Linked DNA regions of Homo sapiens: all the other regions are linked to region 3. Evidence: promoter capture Hi-C in 16 types of primary human blood cells and fetal thymus (Javierre and others, 2016). All regions are on one chromosome and are shown on one strand. Each heading gives the region's core, a stretch centred on a gene start or on the middle of the fragment in contact. The rest is flanking DNA. Distances are from core to core; before and after follow the strand shown.

What was found. Contacts are between HindIII fragments. The CHiCAGO score rates a contact against its expected background, and 5 or more counts as called.
Region 1: a fragment that was not itself captured here is called in contact with the fragment with the promoter of NCAM1-AS1 in region 3 in 6 of 17 cell types (total CD4 T cells, naive CD4 T cells, naive CD8 T cells and 3 more); the score reaches 7.4 in total CD4 T cells.
Region 2: the fragment with the promoter of PLET1 here is called in contact with the fragment with the promoter of NCAM1-AS1 in region 3 in 7 of 17 cell types (naive CD8 T cells, total CD8 T cells, non-activated CD4 T cells and 4 more); the score reaches 7.7 in naive CD8 T cells.
Region 4: a contact is called between the fragment with the promoter of IL18 here and the fragment with the promoter of NCAM1-AS1 in region 3, in 3 of 17 cell types (total CD4 T cells, non-activated CD4 T cells and total B cells). The highest score is 7.2, in total CD4 T cells.

The regions. Positions count from the first base shown.
Region 1 is chr11:112,202,178-112,207,000 of GRCh38, reverse strand. BCO2 (beta-carotene oxygenase 2) reads right to left here. Exons shown (of 12, transcript NM_031938.7): 8 at 4,811-4,823. Among named protein-coding and RNA genes, the nearest start is that of PTS, 22 kb to the left of the region's middle. The HindIII fragment of the contact is 3,645 bases long and covers 36-3,680 here.
Region 2 is chr11:112,259,479-112,264,734 of GRCh38, reverse strand. PLET1 (placenta expressed transcript 1) reads left to right here and starts at 3,875. Exons shown (of 4, transcript NM_001145024.1): 1 at 3,875-4,329. The coding sequence starts at 4,146. LOC100132686 (a long non-coding RNA gene) reads right to left here and starts at 4,470. Exons shown (of 1, transcript NR_133566.1): 1 at 3,339-4,470. The HindIII fragment of the contact is 13,385 bases long and covers 3,754-5,256 here.
Region 3 is chr11:113,272,387-113,277,141 of GRCh38, reverse strand. NCAM1-AS1 (NCAM1 antisense RNA 1) reads left to right here and starts at 3,241. Exons shown (of 3, transcript NR_034101.1): 1 at 3,241-3,518. NCAM1 (neural cell adhesion molecule 1) reads right to left here. Exons shown (of 20, transcript NM_181351.5): 20 at 1-1,875. The coding sequence ends at 1,755. The HindIII fragment of the contact is 7,964 bases long and covers 230-4,755 here.
Region 4 is chr11:112,160,719-112,165,911 of GRCh38, reverse strand. It overlaps IL18 (interleukin 18), which reads left to right and starts at 1,818. Exons shown (of 6, transcript NM_001562.4): 1 at 1,818-2,006. TEX12-AS1 (TEX12 antisense RNA 1) reads left to right here. Exons shown (of 3, transcript XR_001748384.2): 3 at 393-550. The HindIII fragment of the contact is 1,434 bases long and covers 1,144-2,577 here.

The sequences.
Region 1 (4,823 bases), core at 609-3,108, 1.1 Mb after region 3:
TTTCTATAAAGAGCAACAAACAGAAAATGAAAGCTTAAAAGATACCATTTACAATAATTTCAAAACACACAAAAAGAAATGTAGTATCTTTATACTGAAAACTATAACTTTACTGAGAGAAATTTTAAAAGACCCAAATAAATGGAGGGATATTCCATGTTCATGGATTGGAAGACTCAATATTGTAAAGATGTCAATTGTCTCCAAATTGATCTACAGTTGCAATATTGTATCAGGTTTTTTCCTTGCAAAAACTGACAAGTTGACATCAAATTTAAAAGTTTCTGCACAGCAAAGGAAACAATCAACAAAACGAAAAGGCGACCTATGGGCTGGGGAAAAAAATTGCAACCACATATCCAATAAGGAATTATACTCAAAATTTGTATATTTTTAAATTTTTTTGTAGAGATGAGGTCTTGCCATCTTGCCCAGGCTGATCTTGAACTGCTGGGCTCAAGCAATCCTCCCACCTTGGCCTCCCAAAGTGCTGGGATTACAGGCGTGAGCCACCACACCTGGCCTCAAAATTTATAAAGAACTCTTACAACTCAATACCAGAAAAACAAATAACCCAATTAAAAAATGGGAAAAGCCGGCCGCCGCCCCGTCTGGGAAGTGAGGAGCGCCTCTGCCCGGCCGCCCACCGTCTGGGAACTGAGGAACACCTCTGCCCAGCTGCCGCCCCTGCCGCCCCAGGAGTGCCTCTGCCCAGCCGCCCACCCTCTGGCAAGTGAGGAGCGCCTCTGCCCGGCCGCTGCCCTGTCTGGGAAGTGAGGAGCGCCTCTGCCTGGCCCCCACATTGTCTGGGATGTGAGGAGCGCCTCTGCCCGGCCCCCGCCCTGTCTGGGAAGTGAGGAGGACCTCTGCCCAGCTGCCGCCCGTCTAGGATGTGAGGAGCGCCTCTGCCTGGCCGCTGCGCAACCTTCCAAGTGTGAAGTGACAGCCTTGTGTGTGATCTTTTCTGTCTTCCCCAAGTTTGCATTTTCAATATTAAAGTTTACTTTTTAATTAAAAGTTAAAAATAAATTAATTAATTAATTAATTAAAAATAAATAAAAAATGGGCAATGGACCTGAACAGTCATTTCTCCAAAAATAGAGGCCAGGTGTGGTAGCTCACACTTGTAATCCCAGCACTTTGGGAGGCTGAGGCAGGAGGATCACTTGAGCCCAGAAGTTTGAGAAAAGCCTTGGCAACATAACAAGGCCCCTGTCTCTACAAAAAAGTTTTAAAAATATTAGCTGAGTGTGGTGCCATGCACCTGTAATCCCAGCTACTTGTGAGGCTGAGGCAGGAGGATCATGCATGCCCAGGAGTTTGACAGCAGCCTTGGCAACATAATAAGACCCTGTCTCTACAAAAAAGTTTTTAAAATATTAGCTGAGTGTGGTGCCACGCACCTGTAGACCCAGCTACTTGGGAGGCTGAGGCAGGAGGATCACGTGTTCCCAGGAGTTTGAGGCTTCAGTGAGCTATGATCATGCCACTGCACCCAGCCTGGGCAACAGAGTGAGATCCTGTCCCTAAAAGAATAAAATAAAAAATAAAATAAAATTTGAAAGTCCAATAGGCATATAAAAAGGTGCTCAACATCACTAACCATAAGGGAAATACAAATTAAAACCACTATATAAAACCTCACACTCATAAGGATGGCTATTATCAAAAAGACAAGAGATAACAAATGTTGGCAAGGGTGTAGAAGAAAGGGAACTCTAGTACATTGTTGGTGGGAATATAAATTGGTACAGCCATTATGAAAAACAGTATAGGAGTTCCTAAAGAAATAAAAAATACAGATGACCCTTGAACAACACGGAGTGGGGTAGAGGTGCCAACCCCCTACATAGTCGAAAATCCACACATAACTTTTGACTACTCAAAAATTTAACTACTAATAAACTATTGTTGACTGGAAGCCTTACCAATAACATACAGTTAATTAACACATATTTTGTATTTCATATGTATTATATACTGTATTATTACAATAAAGCAAACCAGATAAAAGAAAATAAGAAAATGTTATTAAAGGCTGGGTGTGGTGGCTCAAGCCTGTAATCCCAGAACTTTGGGAGGCCAAGGTGGGCAGATCATCTGAGGTCAGGAGTTCGAGAGCAGCCTGGCCAATATGACAAAACCCCATCTCTACTAAAAATACAACGGGCATGGTGGCAGATGCCTGTAATCCCAGCTACTCGGGAGGCTGAGGCTGGAGAATTGCTTGAACTGAGGAGGCGGAGGTTGCAGTGAGACGAGATCACGCCATTGCACTCCAGTCTGGGCAACAAGAGCAAAACTCTGTCTCAAAAAAAATAAAATAAAATGCTACTAAAAGTCATAAGGAAGAGCAAATATATTTACTATTCATTAAGTGGTAGTAGATCATCATAAAGGTCTTCATTCTCATTGTCTTCACATTGAGTAGTCTGAGGGGGAGGAAGAAGAGGGGTTGGTCTTGCTATCTCAGGGGTGGAGAGGTAGAAGAAAATTTGCATATAAGGACCCATGCAGTTCGAATCCATGTTGTTCAGGGTCAACTGTACAACATATGACCCAGCAATCCCTCTCCTGGGTATATACTCAAATGAGATGAAATCACCACCTCATGAAAATAGCTGCATTCTTACGTTCATTGTAGCATTATTCATAACAGTCAAGAAACAGAAACAACCTAAATACCCATTGACAGATGAATGGATAAAGAAAATGTGATATATACACACAATGGAGTATTACTCAATCTTAGAAAAGGAGATCCTGACGTCTGCTACAACATGGATGGACCTGGAAGACATTATGTTAAGTGAAACATCCAGACACAGAAAGAAAAATATTCTATGAGGCAGGGCGCTGTGGCTCACGCCTGTAATCCCAGCACTTTGGGAGGCCAACGCAGGCAGATCACCTGAAGTCAAGAGTTAGAGACCAGCCTGGCCAACATGGTGAAACCTGGTCTCTACTAAAAATACAAAAATTAGCCAGACATGTTGGTATGTGCCTGTAGTCCCAGCTACTCGGGAGGCTGAGGTAGGAGAATCACTTGAACCCGGGAGCAGAGGTTGCAGTAAGCCGAGATCGCGCCACTGCACTCCAGCCTGAGTGGCAGAGTGAGACTCCGTCTCAAAAAAAAAAGAAAAGAAAAAAAAATTGCATGATCTCATTTTTATGTGGAATTTTTTAAAGAAAATCTCAAATACACAGAGAAAGACAATGAAACAGTGGTTACCACCAGAGGGGAGGGGAAGGCAAAGACAAGATGTAGCTCAAAGGATACCAAACAGTAGATATGTAGTATGAACAAGTCTAGAGGTCTAACGTACAAACGTAAGAAATAAAGTTAATAAGATTGTATTCTATCAGAGATTTTTGTTAAACAAGTAGATTTTAACTGCTCTTGTCACACAAAAAAGTAACATGTGAGATGATAGATATGTTAATCTGCCTCACTATACTAACCATTTTAATATTTACATGTATCCCATAACATCATGTTGTAAACCTCAAATATATACAATGAATTTTATTTTTAAAACAAGAACAAAAACAAAACCTGATAAATGGATTCTAAAATTTATAGACATGCAAAAGGCCATGAAAAACCCAGGCAATCTTAAAACAGAAAAGAGATAAACAACCACAGATGTCAAGACCCACCATAAAGCTATAAGTAAGCTTAGTAAGGCATAAGTAAACTTAATAAGTACTATTTTACAAACATTTAAAAAGACAATTATAGCTAAAAAATAAAGCTACAGCTAGAAACAATGTATATTACATAATTCAAGGAAAAACTTTACCTTGGATTCAGCATCAGGAAAAAGTGAATCCCTTCAACTAGGTGGACTGATTGACGGTCTACTTTGCTATTCCTTCTAGCAAACTTTGGTGCTTAAGTGTAATAAGGAAATAAGGAACTATCACATATGCTTTTTTTTTTTTTTTTTGGAGATGGAGTCTTACTGTGTTGCACAGGCTGGGGTGCAGTGGTGCGATCTTGGTTCACTGCAACCTCCACCTCCTGGGTTCAAGTGATACTCCTGCCTGAGGCTCCCAAGTAGCTGGGATTACAGGCACCCACCACCACATCTGGCTAATTTTTGCATTTTTACTAGAGACGAGGTTTCACCATTTTGGTTGTCCAGGCTGGTCTCAAATTCCTGAGCTCAAGTGATCTGCCTGCCTCAGCCTCCCAAACTGCTGGGATTACAAGCGTGAGCCACCGTGCCCAGCCACATATGCTTTTAAACACATATCTTGGCTCTCTTTGCCATGTTTCTTACTTATTAGGTATTAAATAAGCTATTTCAAATTATTTTTAATATTAAATAAATGATGAAGCTGTGTCTTCAATGCTTTAAAACTACTCTCTCTCATTATTTGCCACAAGGAGACAAGAGAAACACGTAATTCCTAGGTCAGGCATGGTGTCTCATGCCTGTAATCCCAAGACTTTGGGAGGCTGAAGCAGTCAGATTACTCGAGGTCAGGAGTTCGAGACAAGTCTGGCCAACATGGTGAAACCCATCTCTACAAAAAAATTAAAAATTAGCAGGGCATGGTGGTGCGTGCCTATAATCCCAGCTACCCGGGAGGCTGAGGCACAAGAATCTCTTGAACCTGGGAGGTAGAGGTTGCAGTGAGCCGAGATCGCACCATTGCACTCCAGCCTGGGTGACACAGCAAGACTCAGTCTCAAAAGAAAAAAGAGAGAGAGAGAGAGAGAGAAACATGTAATTCCAAAGCCAAAGCCAGATCTTGGAGTTCAAAATTATTTTGATGACTCTTGACAAATTCTAATGTTTACCTGATCAAGCCCT
Region 2 (5,256 bases), core at 2,626-5,125, 1.0 Mb after region 3:
CCAGGGTCCTCACACAGGCCCTCTCTTGGGCTGAGCTCTATCTTGCAGAAAATGCATGGAACAATTCCACATAAATCAGAGTGTTCCCTTCTGAGTCGTTTCCCATCCCCCCAATCCCATGTCCCCCAGTTCATAAGGAGATTAGACCATCATCCCCATATCAATAGCAGAACTCCTGTATTTTCTTTTCTACCATCCTAATCTGTATAAATTTAGGAAAGGGAAGAAGAAAGGAAGGAAGGTAGGAAACTAATTAACATTTGTTAAAAATTTATACTATATGTCAGGCCCACCCTGTTCCCTAAAATGGTTTTGGGGTTTGTTTTGTTTTCTTTTTTGAGATGGGGGTCTCAATATGTTGCTCAGGCTAGACTCAAACTCCTAAGCTCAAGTAATTCTCCTATCCCAGCCTCTCAAGTAGCTGAGACTATAGGGGCACACCACCAGACCCAGTTCAAAACAGCTTACATACACTTTTCATTTAATATACATAAAAGTATGTAAGACTGATATTACTGCCTTAATTTTAGAAGTGGAGACTAAAGCTCAGATAGTTTAAAAACTCTCCCAAAGCAAGGACTCTGAACAGGACCCAATACTAAAGTTCTGTCACATTCTTTCTGCTACCCCAACTTGCCTACACAGCATATTATGTAAATAAAAATTTTATTGAGATATAATTCACATACCATCAAATTCAATTTGGTAGTTTTTAGTATATTCACAAGGTTGTGAAACCATCACCACTATCTACTTCCAGAACATTTCCATCATCTCCAAAAGAAACCCCAAATCAATGAGCAGTCATAGTCATTTCCCATTCCCCGCACCATCCCTAGTCCCTGGCAATCACTTTCTGTCTCTGTGGATTCGCTTCTTCTGGATATTTCATTTTTTCAATATTTCACATTTCTGTCTCTGTGGATTTTCATATTTCTGTCTCTGTGGATTTGCTTCTTCTGGATATTTCATTTCATTTCATAGAAATGAAAGCATACAATATGTGGTCTTTTGTGTCTGGCTTTTTTCACTGAGCACAGTCATTTCAAGGTTCATCCATGTTGTCGCATGTATCGGTACTTGATTTATTTTTATAGCTAAACAATAGTCCATTGTAAGAACATACCACATTTTGTTTATCCATTCATAAGTTGATGGACACTTGGATTGTTCCCACTTTTTAGCTATTATGAATAATGCTCCTATAAACATTCATGTACAAGTTTTTGTGTGGACATACATTTTTAATTCTCCTGGGTATATACCTATGAGTGGAGTTCCTGGACCATATAGTAGTAACTCTATGTTTAGCTTTCTGAGGAAATGCCAAACCGTTTTCCAAAGTGGCTACCTCATTTTATATTTCCACCAGAAATGAATGAGGGTTCAACTTCTCCATATCCATGCCAACTCTTATTATTACCTGTCATTTTGACAGTAGTAATTCTAGCTGTAAAGAGGTATCTCATTCAAGTTTTGATTTGCATTTTCCTAATAACTAATAATGTCGAGCATCTTTTCACATGTCTATTGGCCATTTGTACATTTCTTTGGAGAAAGTATTCAAATCTTTGCTCATTTTTAAATTGGGATATTTGTCTTTTTGTTATTGAGTTGTAATCTTTATATATTCTAGAAACTAGGCCCTTTTCAGATATATGATGTAGATTATCTTTTCACTTTTTTTTTTTTTTTAGATGGAGTCTCACTCTGTTGCCCAGGCTGGAGTAAAGTGGTGCAATCTTGGTTCACCGTAACCTCTGCCTCCCGGGTTCAAGCAATTCTCCTGCCTCAGCCTCCTGAGTAGCTGGGATTACAGGCACACACCACCACGCCTGGCTAATTTTTGTATTTTTAGTAGAGACGAGGTTTCATCATGTTGGCCAGGCTGGTCTCGAACTCCTGACCTCAGGTGATCCACCCTCCTTGGCCTCCCAAAGTGCTGGGATTACAGGCGTAAGTCACCGTGCCCAGCCCTTTTCACTTTCTTGATAGTGGCCTTCAAAGAACAAAAGCTTTTAGTTTTGAAGTCCAATTTATCTATTTTTCCTTTACTTATTTTTGCCTCAGGCATCATGTCTAATAACTGTTGCTTAAACCAAGGTTATGAAGATTTATACCTATGTTTTTTCCTAAGAGTTTTATAGTTTTACATGTAGGCCCTTGGTTCACCTTGAGTTAATTTTGTATATGGTACGAGTAGGGCTCCAACTTTATTCTTTTGCATGTGCATATTCAGTTGACCCAGCACCATTTATTTCCCCATTGAGTTGTCTTGTTACCCTTGTCAAAACCCAGTTAATAATAAATGTGTGGGTATGTTTCTGAAATCTCAATTCTATTTCATTGATGTATATGTCTATCCTTATGTCAGTACCACACTGTCTTGATTACTGTAGCTACACAGTAAATTTTAAAATTGGGAAGTGTGAGTCCTCAAACTTTGTGAGTTTTGTTTGTTTGTTTTCAAGATCATTTTGACTATCCTGAGTGTATTGTTATAGTTTTCCGTATACAAGTCTTGCACTTGTTTTGTTAAATGTATTCAATTGACCCATCTTCAAGTTCACCAATACTTTCTTCTACCAGTTCAAATATGCTGTTGAGTTCTTCTGGTGACTTTTTAAAATCGTAGTTATTGTACTTTTCCATTGCAGAATTTCTATTTGGCTCTTTTTATCATTTTAATCTCTTTATTACTATTCTTTACTTGGTGAGACAATCACCAAAATCAATCTCATACTTTCCTTTAATTCTTTAGACATGATTTTTTCTAGTTCTTTGAACGTATTTATAAAGCTGAGTTAACGTCTATGTCAAGTTCAGCGTGTGGGCTTCCTCAGGGACAGTTTCTGTTTACCTGGGATGTTTTTTTCTTCTGTATAAGCCATACTTTCTTGTTTATTTGTATATCTTATAATTTTTCTTGAAAACTGAACATTTAAAAAACATGAAGCCAAGCAAAGTGACTTATGCCCATAATCCCAGCACTTTGGGAGGCTGAGGCAGGAGGATTGCTTATGCCCAGGAGTTCAATAACAGTCTGGACAACATAGCAAGACTCTACAAAAACTATAAAAATTAACCAGGTGTGATGACACGTGCCTATAGCCCCAGCTACTTGGGAAGCTGCAGCAGGAGGATCACTTAAGCCCAAGAATTTGAGGCTGCAGTGAGCTATGATTGCACCACTTCACTCCAGCCTGGGCAATAGTGAGACTGTGTCTCAAAAAAATAAATAAATACATACATACACACACACACACACACACACACACACACACAAATGTGACAACTTTGGACACCAGACTCCCTTCTCCTCCCTGAGTTTGTTTTTGTTGCTGTTTGTTATTCTTTTTTATTGTTGTTGTTGCTGCTGTTTGTTTTATGACTTTCCTAAATTAATTATGTGAAGTCTGTATTCTTTATCATGTGTAACCACCAAAGTCTCTGTTCTGTTTGCTTATTGACCAGCTAATAAATAGATTTTTAAAAAATTTCTTTAACTAATAACTCTGGAACCAACAAGTCTCCCAGTCTTTGCTAAGCACTTCTGCATGTGTGTTTTGGGGAATGCCTTCAGTGATCAGATAGGCAGTTTACAGCTCTACCTTAGCCTTTACTTCTTACTTGTGCAGAGCCTCAAGGTCGGCCAGAGGTGAGTAATTAGGGCCTCCTCAGGTCTTTCCTGGGAATGTGTGTAGCCCTGCACATGCACATGGCTTTTTAGATTCCCAGGGATTCGTCCAAGCTTTTCAAACCCCCTATAGACATCTCATTCCTCAGGGGTTTATTTTACATTTTACACAACTCTGAATTTCACTTGCTGGTATTCACATCTTCTCAATGGCTTTCTTCAAACAGCAGATGCTGAAATGACAGGCGTAAAAGAAAACCATATTCAGGACATTCCCTTTCTTGAGCAAAACTGCAATTTGCAAAATCATCGGTGACAGGTAATGGTGACTGGTGATTCATTCCTGGTGATGTCTTGGGCCAAATTCCAGAATCCAATGTATATTCAGAAGGGGCAGGGAGAAGATCTGCATGTATGACTTCACCCAGAAGCCCTGGCATATAAACAAGAGGTGAGTTGTCAGTTTCACCCAATTCCAGGCCTAGCACTTTCCAAACAGACTGAGACCATGGCAGTCTTCCATGACATGCTGCTGCAGCCACTGGGGATGTTTCTGTGCCTCAGTCTGCAGCTTTCTTCTGCCACCTTTATAAGGTACAGTAGCACCTGCTTCACCTTTGATGAATACTACACCATAACCCTAGACATCAAGGCCAGTTCACATATCTACGAAAGCAATGCAGTCTATTCTGGTGAGTAGAAGCCATGCTCTCTGCTGTCCTTTGTTCCCTGAGGGAAATTAACCAGAATTTCAGAACACACCCCTCTATCGCTACTCTCAATTATACAAAACATGTGTCTTCTGAACCAAATGGGAAGCAAGGGAAGGAAGACAAAGAATGAGAATTAAGGGAGTGGGCTGGGGGGCTATTTCTGCAAATTCCTTGTGAACTCAAGCCACAGGAGCGAGAAAGCCCCAACCCCAGATTCACTGAGTCCCAGCAAGAGCACACTTGGGGTAGATTCTCTGACTTAAATAAAATGGGCAGTTTTATCATTTTAAGGGATAATCATTGCATTCCAGTGTATAATCTTTTCTCTTTTTGTTTTTGTTTTTCTGGAGACAGAGTCTCACTTTGTCACCCAGGCTGGAGTGTAATGGTACAATTTCAGCTCACTGCAACCTCCGCCTCCTGGGTTCAAGCAATTCTTGTACCTCAGCCTCCCAAGTAGCTGGGATTACAGGTGCACACCACCACGCCTGGCTAATTTTTTGTATTTTAGTAGAGATGGGGCTTCTCCATGTTGACCAGGCTGGTCTCGAACTCCTGGCTTCAAGTGATCCACCCACCTCAGTCACCCAAAGTGCTGGAATTACAGGTGTGAGCCACTGTACCCAGCCTCCAGTGTGTAATCTTTTCATATCTATTTGACAATATGATGCCTCTGGGGATAATTGTGTACTGCATTTAGTCCGTGGGTGAAAAAAATCTAATAAACAACACAGGGGAAGTATTACTAACCCACTTTATGTATGAAAAGCCTGAGACCAAGGGAAATTAAATGACCTGCCCAGAGTCTCCCTTCTAGTAAGTCATAGAACTGGCTCTTGAATCTTAGTCTGTTCATTCTTAATCCAATGCTTTTCTTAGAGGTGTCCAGTAGATATTTTTTATATA
Region 3 (4,755 bases), core at 1,992-4,491:
ACTGATTTCTGTTTACTTAGCATCATCTTCATCATCATCATCATCATCTGTATTTCATTTTCTTTGTTAAAAGGCTTCGATTCCGTTTGAGTGATTTTTGTTTCCTGAATATTTTTTCTGAACTATCTGCTATACCTTCCACAACCAAACTATGTTGAAGTTTTATTTCAATACTATGACAAAAACACGTTTCACACTAAAATATTCACGCATCCACAGTGCACAAGCTTGCAGTTCTAAAGTAGAATGAGGGAAAAAAAAGCAAAATTTCTATACAAAGGGCTGGCTTTTCCCTTCTCCCCCCCCTCCCATCCCCCTTAAAGTTTCTGTATTTTTTCCCCCACTTGGTTTCCAATCCAGGAAAGTTGTGTTATGACTCCAGACAGTAGGTTGTTTCTTTCTTCTTTTGTTTCTATAAATGCTGCCTAAGTGAACAGAAGGCCGATGTTACTTTACTTCAACAGATTTCCAAAAAAAGACACTAATTCCCTGAAGCACACATGCTCTTCCGCTCAAATCTAGATTCTGGGCTCAAAAGGAAATGGTATGTATAGATTTTATTTGGCTTTCTACACAAAGGGGATGTGTGGGGTAATAATGTGTGTTCACCAAGACCAGCCCCAACTATACAATCTTCTCTGCTTCATTCAACAAAGCCTAAGGAGTCCTTCAAAAGAAGGGTGAGAACGCCTGGGAGCAGATCCCTTTTCACAGATGCAGGCAGGTGGCGGCTAATCAGAAAGTGGTCTAACCCCCAAAGAAACACAAAAATAACCAAAAATTCAAAAGCAAAACCATTCCAGAATGAGATGGATTTTCACCTGAGTGGGACCCAGGCAAAAACTGCAGATCAGAAAAGAGGGGAAGAGCAGCTGTAAACAATCATGTTTTGTAAAGTTGTCCTGTGCTAAAGCAAGCGTGGGATGATCCTACCTACCTCTAGGTGGTATTTGTTACCTTAAAAAATAAAAGGCAGCTATTTTACACGGACATTTAAACACAACCAAAGTCAAACATTTGTCACCTTGTAAACACTGGAAAACAAAGTTGGCAGAAAGAAAGAAAGAAAAAAGAATGTAAAAGAAAGAAAAAGAAGTCTGAATACTGCAAATTGAGATCTACCCCCAGAAGCTGCAATTTGGCATTCGTCCTATAAAATAAGAGTCTACGTGGGAATTGAATTCAGCTAGAAAGGGTGACACACTTTGCATACTGAACAAATACAAAGTGAACAGAAATTATAACTTATTTATGAGGTTTTACAGAGTTCAAACTTGACTGAAAGTATAAAAATAAACTGTGGACTTTGTTCATTCGATTAGTCTTAGTGCCTGAAAGTATTTCTCTGAAACTGGTCTGTGCCAATCGGGTAACACCAAGTGTGGTCTTCCTGAACCTAGATTTCGTTTCTGAGCTTCCTAGATTCTTAATTTGGGGTCCTTTTGTTTGATTTTTTAACGGTTTCAGGGAACGGAGTGTCCTAGTTTGGCTGTGGGTTTAACCTTTTTGTCTCATTTTCTTACAAGTGAGTGTGCAACAAAGGGACCCTTTCTATAAACCTACAAAAAGGAGATTCCCATGTTTTATCTGTTTAGTTTTTTTTAAAGGCAAAAGACACTAGAGAAATGAGATGTGTGTGTGTGCATGTGTGTTTGTGTGTGTGCGTGCGTGTGTGTGTCTGTGGTGTTGGAAATGCTCTGGTGAAGCTGCTGTGTCACTTTTTATTTTGATCTTTGCTCGGTTCTCTTCACCCATCATGCTTTGCTCTCGTTCTCCTTTGTCTGTGTGGCGTCATTGGGGACCGTCTTGACTTCGGCTGGCGCTGGCTTCGTTTCTGTCTCCTGGCACTCTGGCTTTGCTTCTACGGGGCCCTTCCTGCAGAGAATCAGGAAAACAGAACCACTGAGACCACGGTCTGCAGACATCTCGCCCCTGCATCCAGGCCTTGGGGACAGCAGGGAGGAGGAGGGGTTCTCCAGTGACAGCACCCGGCTCCAACCTCTGCCCGTCAAATCACCTGGGAGCACTAAAAATCACCCAAGCCCGAGCTGTGTTCGCGGAAATCCTGATTTAATTGGTCCGGACACAGTGACTTTTAAAAGCACCCAAGTGACTCTAATGTGCAGCCATAGTTGAGAAGCACTGAGTCAGAAGAACGAGTCCTTTCCTCTTCCAGCCCTAAGTTGATGCCAGAGGCTGTGTTTTTACCTGGGGTGGTGGAAGGGGGCAGCAGAGGCAGCTCCTCCTCACCCTGACCAGCTGCAGTGGCAACAGCTCAGCTGGATGTAAATGCAGCCTGCTGGGCTGGGCTGGGCTCCCAGCACTGATTTCAGGGGCCCCTTTGCAACCCACTCTTGCCTGTCCCTTCCCCACCCCACCCTGTGCTGTTGCAGGATGATGCCTCTAGGGCCTGCCTGGGTAGGGTGAGAAAACACTGATGGAGGCAGCTTTTCATGGCAGCCTGGTGGGGTACTAGAGTGGGCCTGGTGGCTATGCGAGAGTTGAGGGCAGCTGAGTGGGCAGGGCTATCAGAGTCCTTTTCCCTCCCGATGCTGAGATTCAGGGCTCCTGGCGAGAGCCCCTTGCAGCCCATGGTGGCAGCATGGCAGCTTATCTGGGGAGCAGCCATAGGAGCCTCTATAAAAATCTAGGTCTGACTCTGCCTCCATCAGTTCCAGGAAAGGGAGTCGGGTCTGAGGATGCATGGGGACAGGCACAGACCCCAGCCTCAGCTGGTGCCACTGAATTTTGGCAAGACACTTACAAACCTGAAAGGTTAAGGCCTTTCTCTTGAACTTTGAGACCCAGCAGCCATTTGATGCTGGGGAGCCCCGAGTCTTCCCAGCCACTCTAAGAGCAGGAGAAGCAAGAGTGGGCTGGGGGCCGGGGTTGGGAGGGGAGGGTGAGCATCTGAGCCACAGTGTGAGGGGACCTCTGAACTGCACCCTCCCCTGCCACGGGCCTGGGGCCTACCTCTTTTCTTCCTGCACATCAGTGCCTTTCTGGTAGGGACTCAGCCTGGCACTGAATAACACACCGACTGGGGGCCCCAGGGTGGCTGATAAGGGCACCTTGGCCTTCTTAGCCTGCTTCCCAAGCTATTCTCATCAGTGGCCTGACTGCAAGGGCTCCCCCAGGGAAAACAGAAGCCGCTGCTAGGATGATAAGGATAAAACATAATTAACATGGCCTAATTAGCCAGCAGGCGGCTGCTCCTGGGGCCCAGCTGCCTGTCCTGCTCTCTCTGCCTTATCCCAGCCCCTTGGTTGACGGTCGCCTCAGAGAAGCCCTGGATGAGGCTGAAGACACATCTAACAAGGAGGACACAGCACAGCACAAATGCACACCACCACAGGACACAACCCGATGACAGCAGACAAAGAGAGGCCGTACTCGGTCTTTGCTGGCGCAGGCGAAACAGAGCTGTCTGCAGTGGAAGGAGCAAGCTCAGGGGCTTGTCCACTGGCCCCAGCGGCGGGAGCAGGAGAGCCCAGGGCTGCAAAAACATCCTTTGCAAGGTCAATATCTGGGGTCTTGAAGTTCCCTTCGTCCATTTTAAAGTCCTCGCCCTGGGAAGGGTTTGTGGTGCTGACGGAGGCAGCCTCGCTCTTCGGGCTAGCAAGGGCTGTGGCTGCCTCGGCCGGGCTCTTCGCGGCTCCGGGCTGGGTGGGCTCCGGGTCCGGGCCTTTGGTGCTGGGAGCCTCCTGCTTGGCCTGAGGGGCTTCTGTGGCAGGGGCAGCCGCTGCTGCTAGAGGACTGGCTGCCCCAGTCGGGGTGGGGACTGGTGCAGGGGTGGGCTTGCTGGCCGGAGGAGCCTTAGAGGCCTCCCCGACACCAGCAGGGGCGCTTGGGCTGAGGACAGCCCCTTGGTTAGCCAGGACACTAGAAGACAAATTGCTAGCGGCAGGGGTTGAGGTCGGGGTGTCGCTCAGGTCAACGAGGGGGGCGACCTTGGGGGCTGAAGCTGGGGCCGGGGAGGGGGCAGAGGCGCTGGGCCCCTTGGAAGGGGTGGCCTGGCCAGCCGGTACAGAGTTTGAGTCAGGCGTGGCCGTGGCCGGCGGGGCAATACTGGAGGTCAGGGTGGTGGTCTCACTGGTGGGGCTGTTCTGAGCAGTGGCAAAGGTTTCGGTGATAGTGTCAGAGTTAGTGGTGACGGTGGTGACAGAAGGCAGCATGTCCTCGACAGTGGCCGTAGTGTCGGCAGGCAGCCTGTGGGAGGACAGGAAGTAGAAGAGAATAGACAATGAAGCTGAGACGTGACAGAGAAGCGAGGAGGAGGGCTGAAGCCCAGGACAGGGACCATGGGGGTGGGGGCATGCAGTTAGGCACAGGCACGGACACAGGCCCACAGAGAGAGAAGGATGCTGAGAGGAAGCACACGCCCAGGTGGGCAGAAGAGGACACAGGAGACGACAGAGAACGTGGCGGTCTCAAAAGGGACCTGCTAGCCCTTCCCTGCTGATGTCTCTCCAGCTCTCTGCATAGAGCTCCCTTTCCCTGAAGTCCTTGCAGACCTGCCTAGGGCTTCCTGATCCCTGCCCTGGATCTCCATTCAAGGAGGGGCAGGCTTCTGTTCAGCATCCACCTGCTCTAGGCTTCCCAGGTCCCAGAGGAACTGGGCCCAGCTGTCCTGCAGGGCTCCCCAGGGCACCGATGGGAAAAGTCACGAATAAGGCAGATCACGAGTACTCAGAATGGCTCATAGGAGCTGTGGGTTCTTCCAGTCACAGATTTTGTGGTTCCCTGAAACTCCAT
Region 4 (5,193 bases), core at 569-3,068, 1.1 Mb after region 3:
CTCATGGAATTCATCTCACAGCCTTCACACTGTATGATATTTAAACAGGTGGTTGTCCATCTGATTCTTAAAATATTTCCAAGAAAAATGATTCCACCTAATGCATAAATGCTTTCATCAGATTAAGAGAACACCATGGACATTTTATTTTCTTTTATTTTTTAAATATTAACTTCCATTGCATAAGCTAAATGGGTAGGAATAAGTGAGATGATATTGTTATCTAGAGCTTTAAAATATTCAAAGGGCTGTCATCATTATCTCATTTAATCTTTGAAAACAACTCTATGAAGTACAAAGGACACTGAGACATTTGTTGCTCTATATCAAAGAAAAAAGTGTTTGTCCCAAAACTTCAAAATGTGTAAATTACACATTCTGCATCTTTACAGCTGGAGAAAATTCACTGGCAATGGAATATTTAAAATTAGAGCTTGCTTAGTGTGCTGCTTCTGATCACTACTTGATCCCACTTCGTGCTTTCATGTTAATTGGCCCAATTGGACTCTACAGTTGGAAGGTGAAAACTTACTATTTCAACTTGAGTCACGTATGTATTCTTATCATATACTTCTTAAAGGTACTATTTTTTTTCTTCTGATAGTCACCACACCAAGCACTTCCAGCCACCCTGCCACAGACTTCCTTTGTAATCACTGTTGAAGGACATGATGTTTTTATGACTTCCCGAAATGAAAACCCTATCTTGTTTTTAAAACAAACAAACCAACAAAAAGTAGTGTTTATGTAAGCATTTTGTTCCCTGACTCTAGGAACCCCTCTGTTTTTATATCAACTCTGTACTGGCAAAACACAAAAACAAAATGCCACCTTGCTAATTCCCTTCCTAGCAAAGTAATACAGTTTAGCACATGTTCAAGAAAAAAATGGCTAAGAAATTTTGTTTCCACTAATTATTTTCAAGACTGTGATATTTACACTCTGCTCTTCAAACGTTACATTTTATAAGACTATTTTTTAACATGTTGAACATAAGCCCTAAATATATGTATCCTTAAATTGTATTTCAAATATTTTAGGTCAGTCTTTGCTATCATTCCAGGAATAGAAAGTTTTAACACTGGAAACTGCAAGTAAATATTTGCCCTCTTACCTGAATTTTGGTATCCCTCTCCCCAAGCTTACTTTCTGTTGCAGAAAGTGTAAAAATTATTAAATAAAATTCTAATGATGGTATCCGTGTGGCTTGCATCTGATACAGCAGATAAAGAAGTTTTATGAAAATGGACTCCTGTTCCACTGAAAAGTAAATCTTAATGGCCTGTATCAACTATCCTTTGACACCATATTGAGCTTGGGAGGAAGGGGAAGTCCTGAATGAGGTTATAAAGTAAAAGAAAATATTTGCAAAATGTTCCTTTTTTTAAAATGTTACATTTTAGAAATATTTTAAGTGTTGTAACATTGTAGGAATTACCCCAATAGGACTGATTATTCCGCATTGTAAAATAAGAAAAAGTTTTGTGCTGAAGTGTGACCAGGAAGTCTGAAAATGAAGAGAGACAGATGACAAAAGAAGATGCTTCTAATGGACTAAGGAGGTGCTTTCTTAAAGTCAGAAAGAGATACTCAGAAAGAGGTACAGGTTTTGGAAGGCACAGAGCCCCAACTTTTACGGAAGAAAAGATTTCATGAAAATAGTGATATTACATTAAAAGAAGTACTCGTATCCTCTGCCACTTTATTTCGACTTCCATTGCCCTAGGAAAGAGCCTGTTTGAAGGCGGGCCCAAGGAGTGCCGACAGCAGTCTCCTCCCTCCACCTTCTTCCTCATTCTCTCCCCAGCTTGCTGAGCCCTTTGCTCCCCTGGCGACTGCCTGGACAGTCAGCAAGGAATTGTCTCCCAGTGCATTTTGCCCTCCTGGCTGCCAACTCTGGCTGCTAAAGCGGCTGCCACCTGCTGCAGTCTACACAGCTTCGGGAAGAGGAAAGGAACCTCAGACCTTCCAGATCGCTTCCTCTCGCAACAAACTATTTGTCGCAGGTAAGAAATATCATTCCTCTTTATTTGGAAAGTCAGCCATGGCAATTAGAGGTAAATAAGCTAGAAAGCAATTGAGAGGAATATAAACCATCTAGCATCACTACGATGAGCAGTCAGTATCAACATAAGAAATATAAGCAAAGTCAGAGTAGAATTTTTTTCTTTTATCAGATATGGGAGAGTATCACTTTAGAGGAGAGGTTCTCAAACTTTTTGCTCTCATGTTCCCTTTACACTAAGCACATCACATGTTAGCATAAGTAACATTTTTAATTAAAAATAACTATGTACTTTTTTAACAACAAAAAAAAAGCATAAAGAGTGACACTTTTTTATTTTTACAAGTGTTTTAACTGGTTTAATAGAAGCCATATAGATCTGCTGGATTCTCATCTGCTTTGCATTCAGACTATTGCAATATTGCACAGAATGTAGCCTCTGGTAAACTCTGTTGTACACTCATGAGAGAATGAGTGAAAAAGACAAATTACGTCTTAGAATTATTAGAAATAGCTTTCACTTTAGGAACTCCCTGAGAATTGCTGCTTTAGAGTGGTAAAATAAATAAGCTTCTCTTTAAACGGAATCTCAAGACAGAATCAGTTACATTAAAAGCAAACAAAAAATTTGCCCATGGTTAGTCATCTTGTGAAATCTGCCACACCTTTGGACTGGGCTACAATTGGATAATATAGCATTCCCCGAGATAATTTTCTTTCACAATTAAGGAAAGGGCTGAATAAATATCTCTGTTTGAAGTTGAATAACAAAAATTAGGACCCCCTAAATTTTAGGACTCCTGAAATTCGTCTTTTTGCCTATATTCAGCTACTTTACGTTCTATTAAATCTTCTTTCAGGCCAGGTGCACTAGCTCATGCCTAGAATCTCAGGCAGGCCTGAGCCCAGGAATTTGAGACCAGCCAGGGCAACACAGTCTCTACAAAAAAATAAAAAATTACCTGGGTGTGTTGGTGCATGCCTGTAGAACTACTCAGGATGCTGAGGACTGCTTGAGCCCAGGATAGCCAAATCTGTGGTGAGTTCAGCCACTAAACAGAGCGAGACTTTCTCAAAAAAACAAACAAAAAAACAAACAAACTTCCTTCAAAATAACTTTTTATCTGCAATGTTTTCCTATTGCCTGTGAGATTAAATTTACTCTTTTACCTGATTTCCAAAGCCCTCCATAATCTAATCCGACTTTACCTTGTGTTCACTGCAAAATAGCAGGACTGTTCCACTACAATCCAAAAATCACAGGTTGGGTGCAGTGGCTCACTCCTGTAATCCCAACACTTTGGAAGGCCAAGGCAGGTGGATTGCTTCAGCTCAGGAGTTCAAGACCAGCCTGGGCAACATGGCAAAAACCCTGTCTCTCCAAAACATACAAAAATTAGCCAGATGTGGTAGTATGTGCCTGTAGTCCCAACTACTCAAAAGGCTAAGGCAAGAGGATCACTTGAGCCCAGGAGGTCAAGGCTACAGTGAGCCATGTTTGCTGTGTCACTGCACTCCAGCCTGGGTGATAGAGCAAGACCATGTCTCAAAAAAAAAAAAAAAAAGAAAAGAAAAGAAAAAAACATCGCTCTATTCAGTTCACCCCCACCACAACATTGTTTTGATTATCACATAAATGCTGGTCCATTGCCTTCTCTATCTATTCAAATCTTTAAGCATTCTTTGAGATTCAACTCAATTCTCCTTTTCAAACTAGGCCATTTAAACTACATCAGTTCCATTTTGATTTTTTTGCTTTGAGTCTACAGACTCAAAAACAAAAACTTAAAAACTTATTTTTTAAGTTTTCTGCTACTCTCACCTCTTCAACACTCACATACACGCATTCATAATAAGATGGCAGAATGTTCAAGGATAAAATGATTTATAGAACTGAAAAGTTAGGTTTTGATCTTGTTGCTGTCAAGATGACTACCTACCTGATCTCAGGTAATTAATTATGTAGCATGCTCCCTCATTTCATCCCATACCTATTCAACAGGATTGGAATTCCACAGCAAGGATAAACATAATCATAGTTGCTTTTCAAGTTCAAGGCATTTTAACTTTTAATCTAGTAGTATGTTTGTTGTTGTTGTTGTTGTTTGAGATGGAGCCCTGCTGTGTCACCCAGGCTGGAGTGCAGTGGCACGAACTCGGCTCACTGCAACCTCTGCCTCATGGGTTCAATCAGTTATTCTGCCTCAGTGTCCCAAGTAGCTGGGACTACAAGGCACATGCCACCATGCCTGGCTAATTTTTGTATTTTTAGTAGAAACAGGGTTTCACCATGTTGGCCAGGCTGGTCTCGAACTCCTGACCTCAAGTGATCCAGCCGCCTCGGCCTCCCAAAGTGCTGGTATTACAGGCATAAGCCACCGTGCCCAGCCTAATAGTATGTTTTTAAACTCTTAGTGGCTTAACAATGCTGGTTGTATAATAAATATGCCATAAATATTTACTGTCTTAGAATTATGAAGAAGTGGTTACTAGGCCGTTTGCCACATATCAATGGTTCTCTCCTTACAGCTTTAACTAGAGTCTAGAATTGCAGGTTGGTAGAGCTGGAACAGACCTTAAAGACTGACTAGCCAACTTCCTTGTCCAAATGAGGGAACTGAGACCCTTAAAATTAAGTGACTTGCCCCAGACAAAACTGGAACTCATGTGTCCTAATTTCCATCATGAAATTCTACCATTCACTAGCCTCTGGCTAGTTGTCAAAGTATTGCATAACTAAATTTTTATGTCTGTTTTAAAGAACAAATTGTCACTGCTTACTCCTGGGAGGATCTTTCTGAGGTGGTTTATAACTCTTAAAAAAAAAAAAAGTCAGTAGTCTGAGAATTTTAGATGAAATAGTCAAAGCATTTTTATCCAATGGATACTATAATTTTCATAGATTAGAGTTAAAGCAAAGAAACACGGATGAGAAAGGAAGAGGAAAATTGAGGAGAGGAGGAATGGGGATGAGAACACACTACTTGTAATCAGTCATAGATGTATTGAGAACTAACAAGAAGAATTGTAAGAAAATAAGAATGAAGAATTCAAAATCAACACATGAAATAAAAAAGAAACTACTAGGGAAAAATGGAGAAGACATTAGAAAAATTATTCTATTTTTAAAATTCTGTTTTCAGGCTTCCCTCCTGTTCTTCCTCCTTCTCATTGGCTTTCAGGTGGAG